4 separate regions of the Homo sapiens genome follow, and regions 2, 3 and 4 are each linked to region 1. Evidence: promoter capture Hi-C in 16 types of primary human blood cells and fetal thymus (Javierre and others, 2016). All regions are on one chromosome and are shown on one strand. The core of a region is centred on a gene start or on the middle of the fragment in contact, and the rest is flanking DNA. Distances in the headings are between cores, read along the strand shown.

Region 1 (3,644 bases), core at 124-2,623:
ACTTCTTAGCCTATGTCTGTCTGTTAGATTCAAAGATTTGTGTATTAGGGTTATGCTATTCTGTCCTTTGAAACATTCTACATACTTTCTAGGGGTCAGTAAATATTAGATTAGAATATTTCCTCAAACACATTCAGAATCTTTAGATCTAGAATTTTGCTTCCTGTAAGGATAGGGAGATTCTATTAAATTCCAAGGAAATGTTAGGATCTTAAGAATATTTAAAGCAAGAACTTTTAAACCAGGGATCTACTAATCCCTAGATTAGATTTACTATGTCTGTGAATCCATTAAATTATGTGTAAAACATTTTGTGTATGTGGGCATGTGAATTTTATGGGGAAAATGTACAAAACTATGATACAGGATTTTCTGGGAGATTCCATATTTGGGTACTTCATGGGCATTTCAAGTTTCTACTTTATTTGTGAGCCCATGCAGTTAAAGAGTCACATTATCTGGGAGTGCCCTTATTGATTTATTCAAGATTTCTTTCTAGTTATGTTTTTATAAATGTTTATAAGGCAGCAGCTTTAAAGCATTCTTGATTAAAATTCATTCTAAATTATATATATTTTAATAAACACATATAGATCTCACTTAAAAGTTTTATAGAGCGTTCCTTACCACATAAGGTATAATATATATATATATATGTATTTTGAGCCACAGTCTTACTCTGACACCCAGGCTGGAGTGCATTAGCATGATCATGACTCACTTCAGCCTTGACCTCCTGGCCTCTAGTGATCCTTCAACCCCAGCCTCCTGATTAGCTGGGACCACAGGCATGCACTACCATGCCTAGCTAATTATTATTTTTTATTTTTTGTGAAGATGGGGTCTTGCTATGTTGCCCAGGCTGGTTTTGAACTCCTGGGCTCAAATGATCCTCTCACTTTGGCCTCCCAAAGTGCTGAGATTACAGATGTGAGGCACTGTACCTGACCCATGTGATAAAATCTGATATTTTCTATTTACTTTTTAAAATGCTGGTTGAAGCCCACTAAATTGATTTTATAACCTCCTATTGGGTTGCAGTCAACAGTTGAAATCAGGGATCAAGAAAAGTTATTGTAAATAACTTAGGGAACAAACTTTAAATATACAGCTGAGAGAAGAGGGTCCAGAGAAGTTAGCTTGGAGATGGGTTGGTGGTGCTGGGGATGGTAGCCAGAGAGCATCAGCTGCAGATGCCCTCTCCTCCTGGTTACTAACCTGGAGTCTTCAGGGAGTGGTTGAATATTCACATCTGCATCAGTTTCAGTCTTTACAACTCCAGAGAAGTAAAATAAATGAAGCTATAAACAGGTAACATACTTCCTGACTTGACTATCCAAATGACTATTGTGAGATTTTAATCCTAAATATTCTTGGTGGCAAATTAAAATTAGAAGGCAATATAATTACAAAATAGTATAAGAATTATTGCATTTTTTGTTTTACCTTTTCTGCCACCAAGTTCTATACTACATTTCATAGAAATACACAAATTTCCAAACTTTTCCTGGTAAGAAGTAGTCCGCTGCTTCTGTTTCTTATCATTTCAGTGGGGATTTGCTGATCTGTTATTCAACTAATTAAACAGGAGCTGAATCAGAGTTTTTGGACATCCTCTTTTTAAAGCATAGCCAATAACTAGGACACTAAAACAAGGACTTTGAGAAGCAGAGTAGTCTTGAATTTTTCTGTTGTAGGAGAAATAAACTGATGATCTCAGAAGGCATAATATGAACTCCCTGTCCTACCCCAGATTAAACTTTACCCAGAGTGACACAGGTTATACCTGCTCTATTGAGAGAATGCACTGGGGATCAGTCGAGTGAAGAAACACAAGTTGCCTGGGGGATCCTCATCTGGAACAGGCTAATGAATGTCCTTTGTGAATAACTTTGGGAACAAACTTTAAATAGACAGCTGAGAGAAGAGGGTCCAGGGAGACTAGTTTGGAGACACATTGGTGGTGGTGGGGGAGGTATCCAGAGAACATTAGCCACAGAGAAGAAGAGTATGGAGTAATTATATTTTTCTTTCTCAGGTGGGTGGTCATAGCTGGACTTGGCTATGGACAAACAGGTTAGGTGGAAAAATTTGGAGGTCCTAAAAAGCCACATTTTCTTTTCTTAACTTTTATATTAGGTTCAGGGGTACATGTGCAGGTTTGTTATATAGGTAGACTTGTGTCATGAAGGTTTGGTGTACAGATTATTTCATCACCCAGGTACTAAGCATAGTACCCAGTGGTTATTTTTTTCTGATCTTCTTCTTATTCCTCTTGCCTTCCTCCCTCAAATAGGCCCCAGTGCCTATTGGTCCCCTCTTTGTGTCCATTTGTTTTCATTTAGCTCCCACTTATAAGTGTGAACATGTGGTATTTGGTTTTCTGTTCCTGCATTAATTTGTGTATAATGGCTTCCAGCTCCATTCATGTTCTTGCAGAGGACATGATCTTGCTCTTTTTTAATGGCTGCATAGTATTCCATGGTGAATTGGTACCACATTTTCTTTATCCAGTCTACTATTGATGGACTTTTAGGTTGATTATATGTCTTTGCTATTGTGACCAGTACTGCAATGAACATAGGTATGGTTTTGCTGTGTCTCCACCAAATCTCATCTTGAATTATAGCTCCCATAATTCCCTCATGTTGTGGGAGGGACCCAATAGGAGATAATTGAATCAGGGGGTGGTTTCCCCCATACTTTTCTCATGCTAGTAAATAAGTCTCACAAGATCTGATGGTTTTATAAGGGGAAACTCCTTTTACTTGGCTATCATTCTCTTCTCTTGTCTGCCACCATGTGAGATGTGCCTTTTCCCTTCTGCCATGATTGTCATGCCTCCCCAGCCATGTGGAACTGTGAGTCCACTAAACCTCTTTCTTTTGTAAATTGCCTAGTCTTGGGTATGTCTTTATCAGCAGTGTGAAAATGGACTAATACAGTAAATTGGTACCAGAAGTGGGGTGCTGCTGAAAAGATACCCAAAAATGTGGAAGCGACTTTGGAACTGAGTAACAGGCAGAGGTTGGAACAGTTTGGAGGGCTGAGAAGACAGGAAAATGTGGGTAAGTTTGGAACTTCCTAGAGTCTTGTTGAATGGCTTAGCCCAAAATACTGATAGCAATATGGGCAATAAAGTCCAGGCTGAGGTGCTCTCAGATGGAGATGAAGAACTGGTTGGGAAATGGAGCAAAGGTAACTCTTGTTATGTTTTAGCAAAAAGACTGGCAGCATTATCCCCCTGTCCTAGAGATTTGTGGAATGTTGAACTTGAGACAGATGATTTAGGGTATCTGGCAGAAGAAATTTCTAAGCAGCAAAGCATTCAAGAGGTGACTTGGGTGCTGTTAAAGGCATTCAGTTTTGTAAGAGAGTAGAGCATAAGAGTTTGGAAAATTTGCAGCCTGATGATGTGATAGATAGGAAAATCCCATTTTAGGAGGAAAAATTCAAGCTGGCTGCAGAAATTTGCAGAAGTAACAAGGAGCCAAATGTTAATCCCCAAAACTATGGGGAAAATATCTCCAGGGCATGTCAGAAGTCTTCATGGCAGTCCCTCCCATCACAGGCCAGGAGGCCTAGGAGGAAAAAATGGTTTTGTGGGCCAGGCCCAGGGTTCCTGTGCTGTGTGCAGCCTAGGG
Region 2 (3,245 bases), core at 527-3,026, 320 kb after region 1:
ACATCCTCACCAACATCTGTTGTTTCCTCGTTCCCTTTGCCTCCCAGTCCCCAGGGGGTGCAATGCAGAGGGGGCTCCATGGGTAGAGCAGACACAATCAGTCTGTAACACAACTGTGAAATCCTGAACTTAGGGAACCCCCACTATTTTAAAGAGATAGCTAGAAAACCTGCCCAACCTGGCCACCCTGGGAGACATCTATTTTATAATCCTAGTCAGGAAGCAAATCTCCCTTCTGCCCTGGAGGGAGGTATTATTTCGATCTTTCAAGGCTGAATGATATTAAAACAACTTTGTAAAAAAAAATCCAGACCAAGCATAATATTAAATGTGTAGAAATGCCATGGAGAATTGCAACCTAACAGTGATAACTGATATATTTGGTACTACAAGTGGTTGCATGAAATAGATCCTTAAGAAGGGTAATTTATAATTAGTTAATATCATCTTGAAAGGTCTGAGAAGTGCTGCAACCATAAGAAAATGGAATATTACAAGTCTATGGCATCAAATATTATCACTTGGAAAGAAGCTTATATTTAAGGCTGAGCTTTCTCAAAGTAGATGTATAAGGTAAAGAGCACTGTGCTAAGCATGTGAAATACAAGTACTGCACATGCTATAAGGCTATAACATGGTAAGATCCATATTGAGGATCTTAAAGAAAGAAAATTACAAGGTTGTATCCTTTAATTATTATCTTGAATTATACAATAATCAGCAAATCATGAAGTTCCCATGACTGTCCTAAATAAATTTATCTCTTAAATCCTCATGTCACTTGGTGCTGAAAACAAAGGTAGGCTCTGATCTCGCAGTTTATTATACAGCAATATTGGTTAAATTTACATCCTTCCCAGATATCTTTTGTGAAAGTTAATTGATTGGAAATCTGAAAGGATCCCAACTGGGAATTACATATATGTGTGTATGTATTTCATATATGTAAATATAAATCTAAAACTTAGAGGAATTGCAATATGGAACAGCTTTATTGTATGCAATTTACTTACATACCCCTTAGCTATGTAACTGGAGAATACCCAGAGGAAAATCTTTTGGCAAGATATTAAAATATTCACAAGGGTATTTGCTAGCAGCTTTAAAAAGTATTGTAACCACTGGTTTGAAATGAAGATGGAAGATGCTTTTGTTAAAATGAACTCCCTGATTTCAGTGGACATGATGGATCATGGAAAGTCAGAGGCTATGTAATAGCACTTAACTGATATGAGCATATTCAGTGTGGTTACTTATTGGTCAGTATGGCCGAAGTAGTTATCAATATTGCATGATGCACTTTAGTAGTGAACAACAGATTATGAAGTTCCTAGGACTAAAATAAACAGGCAGCTCATTAGGTTTCTAACTGGTCCATATAATTGAAAGAACTCTAGGATAAGTGAAAGGAAGAATGAATTAGCCATCATAATGGAGTTAAAGCTCCTTATTCAATTACAGACTTCAATCCTTTCATAGAACCAGAACCCATGAAGAAAGTTGTCTTTGCAAAACTGTCATGCATATTAATATCCAAATCTTCCGCTAGTGTCCTTCAATAGATATGTGGTCCTTTCCCAAGAAAATCGTACAGTGAAATCAATGAAACATGGATTTTTCAGAGGTTATTCCACCTCATTTCTGAGCTAAGCTTAATTACAATGACTATAAAATGCCAGTGTGTTTACTTATAAGAGTGGAAGAAATTGGAGTCAGAGACATTTTCCTGATAAGTTATGATTATGTGCTAGTCTGTTTTACAGTGAACCTAGTGCATGTGCAAAGTTGTCCTGTGCATACAGTTAAAACACATATATTCAGGGCCAAGTGGAAAACCATATGGTCTCCCTCACTAAGAGATAATAAACAGACAGCATCATTATATCCTTGGAAAAGCTTCAAAGCTAGTGCCACCATCAAAGACTTAAAAAACAAAGATGCAGGAGTGGTGACTTAATCCACATACCCATTGAACTCAACTGTCTGCCTCTCCTAACACAGATAAATTTTAGCAGATGATAATGAACCCATAAGTTAAATTAGGTAGTAAATTCAATTGCAACTGTCTTTTCAGTTATGGCCCATTTACTAGAATAAATCAAAAATAATTCTGGCACTAAATATCCAGTTATTGATTTTGGGAATGAATGTTTATGGATTAATAGATAATACAAGAATTTATTGGCACAACCTGCAAATAAAATGGTATACCTTTGTACTCTAGCCCTTTGCCATCATTTATTCCACAGGCCAGCAAACCATAGCCCACAGGCCAAGGATTGTTTTGGTACAGACTTCCACCTGAGATCCTGAGATGTATTTTACATTTTTAAAGGGTTGTTAGAAGAGAAAGGAGAAGGAAGGGGAGGTGGAGAAGAAAAAAAAGGAAGAGAAGCAAATCAGAAATGTATGATGATATGCTAAGTAATAATTTAAAAACTTGTATCAGATACAGAATCAGAATTTCTTATGTAAAGTATTTTAAAAGACACATTGAAGAGAATTATGGAATTTTATTTTATAAGTAGACATAGCCTAGTTTTCCCTTCCCTATGACAACAGGTCTCCATCAGTAATATGTTTTCTTGAAGATATCACCCCCTTACTCTGTTCCAAAACAGATGGTGTTTTAAAAATATGGGAAAAAGTAACCCATTATCAAAAGAAAGTTGAATTAAAAGAGAAATTTGGAAATTGACTGTTTGAAATTCTTTCCACGATTTTTGTTACTGGAAATTATTTAAACTCATTAAATATAAAAATACTCATCTACTCATTAGAAAACTTGAAAACATAATCATTTTAATATTTTAAAACATTTGTGTGCTTTTAGAAAATTACATAAAAATGCAAAATCAAGACAGCTGATTAACATTAATGTAGTCAATTTCAAAAAAAAAAGCATATTTGAATGGGATTGAAGAATAATTATTGTGATTTCCAGTTCATTTAAAATGGATCCACATTATTGTGAAGCATTAACTTTGCACTACAACAACCCACATAACTAAGTACAAGGTAAAATAAACTGTAATAAGACTTGCAGTTCATTTCACACAATAATTACATAAGTATTTGCAAGTATAATAAAGTATGCTGAATTAAAATGAAACTAATATTTGTACCATAAGTAAAATTAAAAGTTATACTGTAAAGTTATATTATTAAAATATATTGATCATTTTGTATAATTTCCTTTATTAATTCCTATTTTTCTATTAAAATTTCAAAATATTTTATACTAT
Region 3 (3,340 bases), core at 839-3,338, 380 kb after region 1:
CAGTAGTGCATATACTAATCTGGCCATTATCTCACCAAACATTGTTTCCTCTTACCCACTTACTCAGGATAAAAGCAGATCTGAGGCAGCAGGAGAGGACTTTTTACTATTCTCACTTAAATACCCCACATCCAATCATGTATCCATATTTAAAAAAAATTCCTCTAATTTCAGAATCAGATTGAGAAATAAACACAACACAGAGTCCAGGTGGGAATTAATGTGGAGAAATTAGCAGCTGTTTTTGTTTTGTAAGTATTTTGTGGCAAAAACATATCAAAGAAATACAGCTATGTACTTACTCTTACTCCCAGACCCTGGTGGGGAGATTTGGCAAAATATCACTGATTATGCATGATGTGACCTTCTGCTGCAGTATTTCAGGGATGCTATACCATCAAATAGAATGCGTTTTCTTAAATATTAGGTTGGTGCAAAGTAATGGCAAAAACCCGCAATTAATTTTGCACCAACCTAAACATTCTCAATGTGGTATATTCATTCTGGCAGTACCTCCACACTGATGGAAGAGCACTCCCCAAAACACATGGCTTTCATCTCTGAGGCAGCATGAGTGGCACAAAAAAAGCATACATATTTTTTTAGGAGGGAGAGACAATGTCTAAAACTCCTGCCTTTTGGTTTGGCATGGGAATCGTGGGAGGCGAGAATAGCAGTCCCATCTAACGCATTAGTTTCAAAACTGATCGATCTTGTAACCTCTTTTACTTGCCTTACTCTATGTCCCAATGAATTTACCATATTGACCTGACAGTGAAAAGAAAATGTGTCCGGAATGGAGCAATGGGGATCATTCAGAATGAAAAATATTTTCATTTCTTGAAGACAGTAGAAGAAAAATACATTTTTTAATGTTTTTGACCAATTACTTTAATTAATTCCATTGGAAATTTGGGGTTTTCTTCCCGTGCCTATTTTTTTAATGCTGCTAGCAATTGAATAATAAATAATGAATAAAGTGAATGCTATTTTGGGGGTTTATGGAGGCTACTATGTTCCATGCACTGTGCCTACCAATATTACAAAGGCCTAATTAGTCACTGTCCATTTGAGGAGCTTAAAAAGGATTACTATGGCAAACATCCATAGAGTTTAATAATAATTTCAGTTGTATGATGGGTTCCAATTAGCAACTTTTAGTTTTATGCATTGGAACAGGTGATATAACTGACAGCAATAGGTATCTCTGGAAATGTCTTTAACAACTGAAAACCAACTTGCACATTAAACACTCATTGTTTTTAATATACTCCTCTTGAGACAAATATAATTAAGCTGCACAGTGGATGTATTCCCTATGGTCTCTAGTAGAAATAAAAATACTGCCTATTCTATCACTGTGCTATAATTTAGAGCCATAGGAAGTCTAGGAGCCCAAAAAGGAAAAGAAAGCTTACCTTGTGGTTCTAGGTATGTTCTCCTATTTGTAATTTCTTGCAAATTTACACTGAGGTTGTAGAAAGGAGATTCTGTCGATTTTGGCTTTCTTGGATCTTAGCTTTGTAATTATTTGCTTATTCTGTTCAGATCAAGTAAAATATGTACATAAATACATAGATAAACAGCTGGAAATATATTCCCTTTTAAGCCCTTAAGTGTAGCTTTAAGGAAGGTTATAGAATTTGGAAGACCAGAGTATAACACCTTTACATCTGAATCTATTAATTTTTATGTGACTCCTTTAAAATTATAAGTCTTCATATATTGCTTGCATAATAGCTTCTGTATATAATTAGTGATAAGACAAAAACAAAAGATTCAGAATATGCAACTTAAAAACCATTGTTTTTTCCAAATGTTTGTGAAAATTGCATATAATCCATAACTTAAAATCAGGAAGAAATATGTATTCGATGTAATTGTGTAGTTTAGAAAGATTTAACAGAAGAAATCCAGGTGTCTAGATTCTCATCTCAGACTACTGATTCTAGGAAAGCTCCTTTGCTGTGGTTCAGTAGAGAGATGTGTTAGGTGACTGCATTCCCATTAACCTGCCTTCTTTGTTGTCTGCACAGATGTTTAGCTCTGAGCCCACCATAGATGGAAATCAGTCCCTGTGTGCCAAATTCACATTTGTGGCTTTTTCTTCTATAGAAGAATTACAGCTTGTACTCTTCATTGTGTTCTTAATCATCACTTATGCACTATAGGAGGAAATATCATCATCATCTCCCTGATCTGGATCACCCCTGCCCTGCACACTCCAATGTATTTCTTCCTGGTGAACCTCTCATTTCTGGAGATGTGCTATACCACCAGTGTGGTGCCTCATGCTGGTGCACCTGCTGGTGGAGACCAAAACCATAAGTGTGGGTGGCTGTGCAACCCAGATGTACATATTTGCCATCTTGGGACTGACAGAATGCTGCTTGCTAGCAGCTATGGCTTACGATCGCTTTGTAGCTATTTGTTACCCACTGCATTACACTCTCTTCATGGGCCCTCGTGTTTGTTTGAAATTGGCTGCAGCATCTTGGTTCACTGGAGTGGTGGTGGAGTCAGCCCAGATCACCCTGATCTTCACTTTGCCTTTCTGTGGAACAGGAAAGATTCAACACTTTTTTGTGACATAATGCCTGTACTGAAACTGGCTTGTATTGATACCTCCCAAATTGAAATTGTGATGTTTTCTCTCTCCGTGCTATTTATTGTGAGTCCTTGTTTCCTCATTCTGTGCTCCCACATGCACATCCCTGTGACCATCTTGAGAATCCCTTCAGCAGCTGGAAGACACAAAGCTTTCTCCACTTGTTCTTCTCATATCTTGGTTGTTTCTCTGTTCTATGGCACTGCCTTGTTCACTTATCTGCAACCTAAGACTGCACACACTCCAGAAACAGACAAAGCAACTGCACTCATGTACACAATGGTCACACCTGCTTTGAATCCTGTTATCTATACCTTGAGGAACAAGGAAGTAAAGGAAGCCTTTCAAAGGATAACCCAAAGGAACTCTCTTAGACAAACGGCCTAAACCAGTCATAGTAGCTGAAACCTATGCTACTGTACAGAGAGGTTACCCGATTTTATGATTCTTCTACCAACATATTCTTTTATTAAAGCATTTATAGCCTAGCTACCAAAAAACATTTGGATTTGTCACACATTTTTCAATGTCTGTAAGTAAAAGGAAACTACACAGTAGATTCATTCAATTGTTAATCATTCATTCATTCAACAGTATTTACAGGGCATCTCATGTGTCAAGCTACCATTTTCTCCTTCTCCAGTGGTAATAGCATTAAGTCCAGTATGTTTCATGCCATTTTCCTGAGGAAAATGAAATATCCTTTATGAGTATAAAACAAAAAATGAAATA
Region 4 (3,591 bases), core at 1,082-3,581, 400 kb after region 1:
GGTTTTTGAGAAAAGAAAAGCTTTTTATTGCCAAGTTGACTCATAAGGAGACAGGAGTTGAGCTCAAGTCTTCCTCCCTGTGCTGGCTTTAAGGCAGTAATCTCATTAGAAAAGGTTTAGGGTGTTAATTCTGAAATTAGCAGGTGATTGATGAAAGGAAAGAGGAGGTCTGGAAAGTCCTTTGGTATGTGCAGTTATCTCTTCATACTACCTCATGCATTGCATATGCAAATTCAGGGGGAGTTAGTATAAAACATGCAGCGGAAATTAAGGCTGTGGTGACATCAGCAAGCTCATTATGTGCAAACTCTAGTTGGCCACTGATATGGTTTTGCTGTGTCCCTACCCAAATCTCATCTCGAATTGTAGCTCCCATAATTCCCATATGTTGCGGGAGGGACCCGGTGGGAGATAATTGAATTGTGGGGGTGGTTCTCCCATACTGTTCTTGTGGTAGTGAATAAGTCTCATGAGATCTGATGGTTTTATAATGGAGAAACCACTTTTGCTTGCTTGTGCCTTTCACCTTCCACCGTGACTGTGATGCCGCCCCAGCCATGTGGAACTGTGAGACTGAGAATGTGAGTCCATCAAACCTCTTTTTCTTTATAAATTACCCCATCTCAAGTACGTTTTTATGAGCAGCATGAAAATGGACTAATACAGCCGTCTTGGTTCCAACTGACTTCAGCAAATTTTTTCTTTATCTTACAGCGGAGAGAGTTTCAGCATTTCATCAAGTTGTTTATTTTCTTGTCTGCTATCCTGAAAACTCAATAATTTCTATTAATTACTAGTTTCTTACTTTCGGGGCACAGTTTTAGTAAGTTGTTTCTCTTCTTATCTGCCATGCAGTAAGCCCAAGAATTTATTAATTTTTTTAACCCCTTGAAGCATGGTTCACAACTATATACTTTCCTACAAGGAACTCACTTTAGATCTAAAGAGAGAAATAGATTAAAAGTGAAATGATAGAAAAGTAATTAAAAGAAGGCAGGAGTGGCTCCACTAACATCAGAAAAATAGACTTTAAATTTTTAAAAATAACAAGAAAAAAGGAGGACATATCAATAAAAGTTTTAATACCACAAGAAGATAAAACAATTATAAACATTCACACACTTAATCACAGACCATTAAAATATGTGAAGCAAAAATTGTCAAATGAGGGAGGAGTCCTGGGACATCTCACATATGTTCAGAATATGGAATTTAGTCGCATAGTTTTGGTATAAAACCACTCATCTTCTGTACATTATGTCTCCAAGTCTAGAAACCCTCCGCTTTACACTTTCTGGGAAGTAAACCTCAAATCTGCGGTATGGGAGAAGCATCCAGCATCAAGGAGTGGAGGAAGGATCCACACAGAAATAGCATATTTACAAGGATTGTTCTTGAAAATTATGAGGATCATAAATCACAAAATCAATGCAACCTGAATAAGCTATAAGTTTATTTCTCTTTCAAAAAATTGGAGTATTAAGGAAAAAGGGTGGAGATTATACAATGGCTCTATATTCATCAACCTGCCCCTTCTAGTGTGTTACTTCACACCCTTCAACAGGGGGATACTATCTTGTGATTAATTGCAAATATCACTCTGATATTTGCCAGCTCATCCTTACAAAGAGATAGAATTTACATATACTTCTCCATATTTTGAATCTAGTGTAGCCTTGAGAATTACATTGATTTCTTATAATGTGGTAACATTAATGTTTCCTCTTTTTATATTTGCAGATTTGATTTTCTGAAATTTTATTAAGAATTGTTGTAGCTATATTCATGAGAGATGGATATGTTTTCAAAGTAATGTTGGCCTCATGATGAGTTTAGATATGTTATTTCTAACATATCTCTGGGAGTGTTATATGGTATTTCTAATATAACTCTGGGAGAGTTAGAGTATAACTGGATTCTTCTAAAAATACACCACTGAATAGATTCAAAACATTAAATATTTAGTAATAAATCTGACTAATGTGTAAGCTTTGTACAGTTAAAAAAAAAGTCAGCAAAATAAAAAGACAAGCCACAGGCTGAAAGGAAATTTCTGCAAAGTCATATCTGATAAAGGACTGTTACCAAAATATACAAACAACTCTTAAAACTCAACAATATGAAAGCAAATAACTTAATATTAAAAATAGGCCACATAGCTTAACAGACACACAAAAAATAGCCAAATGTCAAATAAGCATATGAAAAGATGTTCTGCATCAAATGTCATCAGGGCAATGCAAACTAAAATAACACGATACTACCACACATCTATTAGAATGGCCAAAATCCAGAGCACTGGCAATGCAAAATACTGGTGAGGATATAGGGCAACAAGCATGTTCATTTAATTTTTATGGAAATGCAAAATGGCACGGCCACTTTGAAAGACAGGTTAGCCTTGTCTTACAAAACTAAATTCACTATTACAATATGACCCAGCCATCACACTGTGTAGTATTCACCCAAAAGAGTTGAAAACTTATATCCACGAAAAAACCTATGCCCTGATATCTGTAACACCTTTTTCATAATTACCAAAACAGAAGCAATCAAGATGCTCTTCAGTAGGTGAATGGATAAAGAAAGTGTAGCACATTTAGACAATAGAATATTATTCAACACTATACCCCAGATTGAGTTTTCTTTCCTAGGGCTTCGACTCAAAGCTTGGAATTGAGTTTGGGACAAAAGAACTGCTTCGGCGGGTTGTGTGGACACTTTACAAGCCAAATGCTAAGGTGAAGCTGTGGAACTGAGTCCTCCTCCAACAAGAGAGAGAAAAGGGTGTCTTGTGTACTGAGTCCTGGCCTAGTATAATGTCTTCTCAAAGGAAAAAAGGCCTCTGGCATAGAGAAGTCCCTTCTACTTGCAGGAGCGTGTTATTAGGTTGGTGCAAAAGCATTCATGGTCCCCATCATGCTAAGTAATGTCAAATAACACAACTACTTTTGCACCAACCCACCAACTCCTGACCTGGTGGAGAAAAGAAAAAATACAGCTTAAAGTGCAGGGATGTGTTAAGTGCTGATGGGGTGAAGAAAAGAAAATAAAACATCTTAAGTACAGAGTTGGAAAGATGCCTGGGGGAAGAATCTCCTATTCTTATGCAAATGTGTTCCTCCAACAGGGAGAGAAATTTTACTTGCTGTTGGACTGGAGAGAAACTTTTCGATGCTGCTGGGAATGCTGGCCAGCGTGCTGTGTGGAGCCCTTGGGCCAGGTGCCCCAGCCCCAGCTGGGTGGAGGTGGGCAGGGAGTCACCACTCACCTATCTGTCTTGCATGCATGCCTGTGACCATTGGGGTGGTGGTGGAACACCCCCAATATTGTAAAAGAAAAGATAGGTGCCATTACAATCCCCCCCAAAAGAAGGAAAATGCCATAGAAAAGACTGGGTTGGACTGAGGTTGACATTCGCAATCCCCAAGGCAACGGAAGTGGAGGGTCACAGTTTTCTCTACCTTCAGAAGATGTCTGAGGGCAAGAAAAAGCTGAGAAACAAAAGGGAAAGAGGTTTTGTGGGGGATTCTGCATTTGATTCACCCTTCCTCATGTCCCCATACAGGCCACCAAAATGATGTGGGATAT

Evidence for each region. Contacts are between HindIII fragments. The CHiCAGO score rates a contact against its expected background, and 5 or more counts as called.
Region 2: a fragment that was not itself captured here is called in contact with the fragment with the promoter of OR2AP1 in region 1 in 5 of 17 cell types (M1 macrophages, M0 macrophages, total B cells and 2 more); the score reaches 8.3 in M1 macrophages.
Region 3: a fragment that was not itself captured here is called in contact with the fragment with the promoter of OR2AP1 in region 1 in 7 of 17 cell types (naive B cells, M0 macrophages, naive CD8 T cells and 4 more); the score reaches 11.5 in naive B cells.
Region 4: a contact is called between a fragment that was not itself captured here and the fragment with the promoter of OR2AP1 in region 1, in 4 of 17 cell types (M2 macrophages, M0 macrophages, M1 macrophages and 1 more). The highest score is 7.2, in M2 macrophages.

Annotation. Positions count from the first base shown.
Region 1 is chr12:55,570,197-55,573,840 of GRCh38, reverse strand. It overlaps OR2AP1 (olfactory receptor family 2 subfamily AP member 1), which reads right to left and starts at 1,373. Exons shown (of 2, transcript NM_001258285.2): 1 at 1,219-1,373. The HindIII fragment of the contact is 11,201 bases long and covers 1-3,644 here.
Region 2 is chr12:55,252,068-55,255,312 of GRCh38, reverse strand. It overlaps OR6C74 (olfactory receptor family 6 subfamily C member 74), which reads right to left. Exons shown (of 2, transcript NM_001005490.2): 2 at 1-3,245. Among named protein-coding and RNA genes, the nearest start is that of OR6C74, 9.1 kb to the right of the region's middle. The HindIII fragment of the contact is 245 bases long and covers 1,654-1,898 here.
Region 3 is chr12:55,193,513-55,196,852 of GRCh38, reverse strand. It overlaps the pseudogene OR10U1P. Among named protein-coding and RNA genes, the nearest start is that of OR10A7, 26 kb to the left of the region's middle. The HindIII fragment of the contact is 1,346 bases long and covers 1,416-2,761 here.
Region 4 is chr12:55,173,148-55,176,738 of GRCh38, reverse strand. No RefSeq gene overlaps it. Among named protein-coding and RNA genes, the nearest start is that of OR10A7, 46 kb to the left of the region's middle. RefSeq lists enhancers at 3,499-3,591, 3,379-3,591. The HindIII fragment of the contact is 680 bases long and covers 1,992-2,671 here.